2 separate regions of the Homo sapiens genome follow, and region 2 is linked to region 1. Evidence: promoter capture Hi-C in human tissues and cell types (Jung and others, 2019). All regions are on one chromosome and are shown on one strand. Each heading gives the region's core, a stretch centred on a gene start or on the middle of the fragment in contact. The rest is flanking DNA. Distances are from core to core; before and after follow the strand shown.

Region 1 (2,781 bases), core at 187-2,686:
GTACTGAAAATCCTGCATTCTTGGGAAACCAGGACAGTTGGTCACCGGGTCTTACCCAGAAAAGTGTAGATAAGCCATAAGAACTTCATGCAATCAGGCTGGGTGCGGTGGATCATGCCTGTAATCCCAGGACTTTGGGAGGCCAAGGCAGGTGGATCACTTGAGGTCAAGAGTTCAAGACCAGCCTGGCCAACATGGTGAAACCCCATCACTACTAAAAATACAAAAATTAGCCAAGTTTGGTGGTGCACACCTGTAATTCCAGCTACTCAGAGGGCTAAGGCACAAGAATCGCTTAAACCCTGGAGGCAGAGGTTGTAGTGAGCCAAGATCATGCCACTGCACTCCAGCCTGGGTGACAGTGAGACTGTCTCAAAAAAAAAAAAACCAAAAAACAAAAAAAAAAACTTCATACAATCAAATCCCTGGCCATCTAAAATACATTAATGGCCGGGTATGATGGCTCACATCTGTAATCCCAGCACTTATGAAGCCAACACGGGTGGATCAATCACATGAGGTCAGGAGTTCGAGACCAGCCTGGCCAATGCAGCGAAACCCTGTCTGTACTAAAAATACAAAAAATTAGCTGGGCGTGGTAGCGCACTCCTGTAATCCCAGCTACTAGGGAGGCTGAGGCAGGAGAATTGTTTGAACCCAGGGGGCGGAGGTTGCAGTGAGCCAAGATCGCTCCACTGCACTCCAGCCTGGGTGACAGAGTGAGACTCCATCTCAAAAAATAAATAAATAAAAATAAAAATAGATAAAACACATTAACTAAAATGAATTTATTGGAGATGAGAGTAGGGCTGGAGTTTGGAATCTGAAAATGTTAAGTTGCATAATAGTTGATGAACCCACCCACCCAACTTAGGTTTAAGGAATGCTGGAACAGTAAGTCATTAATAACATTCTGAAAAGGAGCGGACGGACACTGAGAGATGCCAACTGAGGTCCTACCCTGAGTGATAAGGTAACTAGGTCAGCCCGATTGTCAAGCCTCATGCTTTCAGACTGAATCTGATGATCCACCACAAGTCCCAAAGGTATTCTGGGCAGTAGTAGAGCCATCCACCGCAGGCACCCTGACCAGAAGGAACCAGCTTATGATTCCAGACAGGAAAATTCTTCCTCTTCCAATGCAGTTTAACACCGTTTTCAATCATTTTGGTAAAGTAGCCATCACAATTTCACAAGTGGTGTGTGTGTGTGTGTGTGTGTGTGTGTGTGTGTGTTTTGCAGGAAGATAATTATTGCATAGGTGGCACTGTCTGTTTATCTAGGTAGATACTGTAGTGCTCATTCATGCCATTGGGTAATTGTAGTGAAGCAATTATGTATCACATTTTGAAAGAGGCATTAAAAAAATTCACCACTGAGATGAGTCAGACTTAATTATCTTGGCTTTTTAGCAGCTGAGTTTAAGGCGCAAGGTGGAGAACACATCAGCTTCAAAGGCAGAGAGAATCGAAGGTGCTCTCCAGCTTTGGACACTTCCTCTGCTTGAGGTAAGACTCATGAACAAACTTCAGGTCTCTGCCAGCCATGATCTCCAAACTGGAGATGTCCCAGATTTGGTAGGACACTTTGAACAGGCAGCTGTCATATATCCTGGGTTATTATTATTGTCTGCCTAGATTTTTCTGTATCTTTGTTTGTTTGTTTGTGTGATGTCACATATGCGCACCTGGAGGCTTCTTAGGCAAAAGCTTTAGTGACAGCTAAACAGCCATAAGAGAGAAAAGAGTTGGTTTAAACCACCTACTTAGTTTTGCATCATGGAACAATGTTAAGAGGGTTGCTCAGTGATCTGGACTTATTTTTGCCTCCATTTCAGAGGGGAACCCAGCACAGTGGCAGAAAATTCTATCTTGTCTCTCAAAATCAGCATGGTTAGGACTAAGGAGTTGTTATAATCTCTGTGCTTTCAAGGCAGGTCTTAAAGCACATCAGTGACCTAGATCCTGCCAGAGCAAAACTAGCCACCCACTTGCCTGGACTGTTGAACTTGTTGGTGTTAGGCATAGAGTTTTGGGGAAAAGACATGCTATGAATTCTCAAGGTCCTTGTCATTAGAGATGTTGCTATAAAACTAGATGTGAGGAGTGGATCCCTTGAAATATTCTGCCCACGTTCCATACCTGTCGATTTAGACTTCTTATGTACGGTCATTTTGTCTTAACCAATATGTCGGAATACCCTTCTAGTTTAGACTTCTTTAAACCTGTTGAACTTAATTTTTCAACCTGCGCCTCTGTTTTGAAGGCTACATTTTACTCATTCATTACTCCCTTAATCGGTTTTTCCAGAGTCAGTCAAAGCTCTTGCCAAGCAGCAGTAGTAGTAGGACCATCTGTGAGTTTCAGGTGTTTTCTAAATTGGACTGGCATTTTCTTAGCTGTCAGGATGACTCACACAAGGACCATTTAATTTAGGAGTATTATTCTGTCTGTGTATTTGTATGGAAAAATAATGACTACTGAGATTTTGAATCTTGGAAAGAAGCAATTCCCCAGAAGCAACAAAATAGATAACTTGCTGGTGGGGTTTTTAAGTGATCTTGGATCCTTTTAACAGGCAACTAGCCCTGCCTGCACTTGTCAGCCAAATTACTTAACCTTTTAGTAGTCATCACCTTGCTTGACAAGGTTCCTTTCCTCCCCTGCCCATAAGTTATCATCGTAACTGAACAATTCAATGAAAAGTTATGTACAATTCACCCCTTCATACCCCAGTAATTTCTTTCACTCATAAAATTTCTAGAGGAAAAATATGTTTTCC
Region 2 (2,781 bases), core at 158-2,657, 190 kb after region 1:
GAGTCGTGGGGGAAGGCCTTGTAGATAAGCAGCTTTTGGTCCACATGCACCAGCAGGTAAGGTGTGCTCTGGCGGCTGCCCAGCACAACCAGCAGCACCTCCTTGACGAGAGAGGCAGCTCCTCCTGGCACATGGCCTCCTCCCTGCGGGCCTCGCCCTGTGTGGTGGGCTCTCCAAAGGAGCTGTCCATGAGGACCCGCTGCCCCACAGGGAAGTTCTTCACCAAGAACACCAGCCGCCAGTCGGGGAGCTGGCAGGTCACCATGGTGCCATTCTCCTGCAACAGCAGGCACCAGTGGATGGGCTCTGTCTGGAAGGGTACAGAGTCCCAGTCGGCAGGGGCTGGCTGCTTCTTCGGGCCACCTCCTTGCTGGGACTGAAGAGGGATCCCAAATCCCCACACAGCATTTCCTCATCACCGACTGTGGGGCTAGTCTCCGAGCCCAGGCTCTCGGCCTCCAAGCCACTGTGGCCCCCTAGCTCATCGTGAGCCCCGCTCAGGCAGCTCTCAGTGGTGAACATGCCACTGAGGTCTCGGTACAGGCACAGCGTGATCACGTTGGGCTGATGGTGCAGCGGGGGCTTGTGCAGCACCAGGTGGTCGTGGCAGCCACTATAGGAGTGTGCTTTTCAGCAGGAACATGGTGACGCGGCCGTCGGCACTCATGATGACCACGCAGGGGTTGCCTACAGTGCACTGCATGTTGCGGGTGACCAGGCCCACAGGGATGAAGTACAACTGATTCATTCCTTCCAGCAGGTGGATGCCCAGCAGCGACACTTGGACAATGTAGTGGTTGTCCCCGATGTTTTCGGCAAAGACCGTGGGGCCCTGCGTGGCAAAGCCACTGGTGTCCAGCTCCATGATCTCCTGCCCCATCTGCGGGAATATGGTTGAGTCTTCCTGGCTCAGAATCAGGAATCACTGTCTGCGGTGGTCATTGTCCGCTTCGGGGGTGCTGGGTTCCTGCTCCGTGCCCTCCCCCTTGGGATTCTCTTTCTCCTCCTTAGGCACCAGGGCGATGACTGTCCACATGTCGTAGCAGCCGGGAAGCTCAAAGGTTGTCACCACCTGGGGCTGGATGCTCTTCTGCAGCACCGACAGAGCCCCATTCTTCCTGTGGCTGGAGCAAACCACAATCTCCAGGTCCGGCTCAGGGTTGTTCTGAAACTCTTCAGACAGGAAGGCAGGCTCACCCATGGCAGCATTGGTGCAGGGTCCAATGTTAAGGATGCTGTCACACACCTCAAAGGTAGGTGGCCAGCTGTGTGCCCGACTGGGCGTCGCTGCCGTACACTTCAATCTCGTCCATGTCGTCCTGTGACACGGATTTGTCCCTGGCTGACCAGCTGGCCATGTGTCCACTCGCTTCTTCTGTGAGGGAGGCTCTTCCTTGTCAGCAGCCTCACAGATAGCACTGGCCGGGGGCTCCTGAAGCTTCTCGGTGTACTTGAGGAGGAGAGAGTTGCCCAGGCAAGAACTCAGGAACAGGTACCCAGGCTCCATGGTGACCATGCTGGTGGTGAGGACGCTGGTGGCCGCCTTGTCAAAAGTGGAACACTCGGACGCTACGCATGCCATCGGTGATGAGGGTCAGCATGTAGATCTGACTGCCCTTGAGGGAGATGACCATCTTGTCATGGGAGATGAAGGTGGCCTGGGCGCAGTCCAGGGGGATTCACACACCCAGCTGGGTGCACAGCGGGAAAGCTGCGGTGCCTGTGGTGAGGCTGCTGAGAGCCACACCGTACGGGGGAATGCTCTGGTTCAGGTATAACAGCGAGCTGACGACAAAGACCACCACCCCACCTATGGGCTTGGGTACGGCCAGAGCCTGGGTGCAGTCAAAGGGTAGCTGGTGAGAGATCAGATGACGGGGTGCACCTTCTGCGTGATGTTAGCAAGATGGCCACGATGGAGCACGTGTCCTGCCACACAGCCACGTGCCCGGGCCAGGTCTGGTTGGGCTCGAACAGGATGGGCTTGTAGTAGCCGTGCAGGAACTGCAGGGCGATGATGATGAGCAGCTTCTCATCCAGGGCCTGCACATCGATGAGGTAGCTTCTACAGGACAGGCCAGCCCACTCCTATGGAATCAAAATACGGATTTTTAAAAGATCTCCAGGTGATTTAATATAAACAAGCTTGAGAAGTTATGTTTTAGGTCAGTGCTACACCCAAAGAAATATGACAGCCACATGTATAATTTTAAATTTTCCTGTAGACATGCTAAAAAAGTAATAAAAAACATGCAGCCGCTCGTGGTGGCTCACGCCTGTAATCCCAGCACTTTGGGAGGCCAGGGTGGGCAGATCACAAGGTGAGGAGTTCGAGACCGCCATGGCCAACATGGCAAAACCCTGTGTTTACTAAAAATATAAAAATTAGCCCGGTGTGGTGGCATGCTCCTGCAGTCCCAGCTACTCAGGAGGCTGAGGCAGAATCGCTTGAACCCAGAAGGCAGAGCGTGCAGTAAGCCGAGATCACACCACTGCACTCAGCCTGGGCGAAAGAGCGAAACTCTGTCTCAAGAGAAAAAATGCAAAAAATACTTTAAATAGTATATTATAAGCCTGTATATCCCAAATTATTATCATTTTCACAGAGGACACTAACCACATTTAAGGGCTCTGCAGCCAATGGCGACTACCACATTAGACAGCACAGGCCTAGAGCACGACCTAACTATTACATTACCTTCAAAATCTCTAGTCATCTCTAGTCTATATTCAACTATGGTTTGGGGGCATAAATATTTCAGGTGCCAGAATTCAGCCTAT

The links. The method cuts DNA at HindIII sites, captures the fragments that hold promoters and counts their contacts. A contact is called where the count stands out against the background at its distance.
Region 2: a fragment that was not itself captured here is called in contact with the fragment with the promoter of BPIFC in region 1 in 1 of the 25 tissues and cell types used here (H1 embryonic stem cells).

Annotation. Positions count from the first base shown.
Region 1 is chr22:32,463,101-32,465,881 of GRCh38, reverse strand. It overlaps BPIFC (BPI fold containing family C), which reads left to right and starts at 1,436. Exons shown (of 17, transcript NM_174932.3): 1 at 1,436-1,508. The HindIII fragment of the contact is 9,351 bases long and covers 1-2,781 here.
Region 2 is chr22:32,268,664-32,271,444 of GRCh38, reverse strand. It overlaps SLC5A4-AS1 (SLC5A4 antisense RNA 1), which reads right to left. Exons shown (of 4, transcript NR_149072.1): 4 at 1-2,088. It also overlaps a transcript of SLC5A4 not described here and the pseudogene CPSF1P1. Among named protein-coding and RNA genes, the nearest start is that of SLC5A4, 15 kb to the right of the region's middle. The HindIII fragment of the contact is 4,471 bases long and covers 1-2,781 here.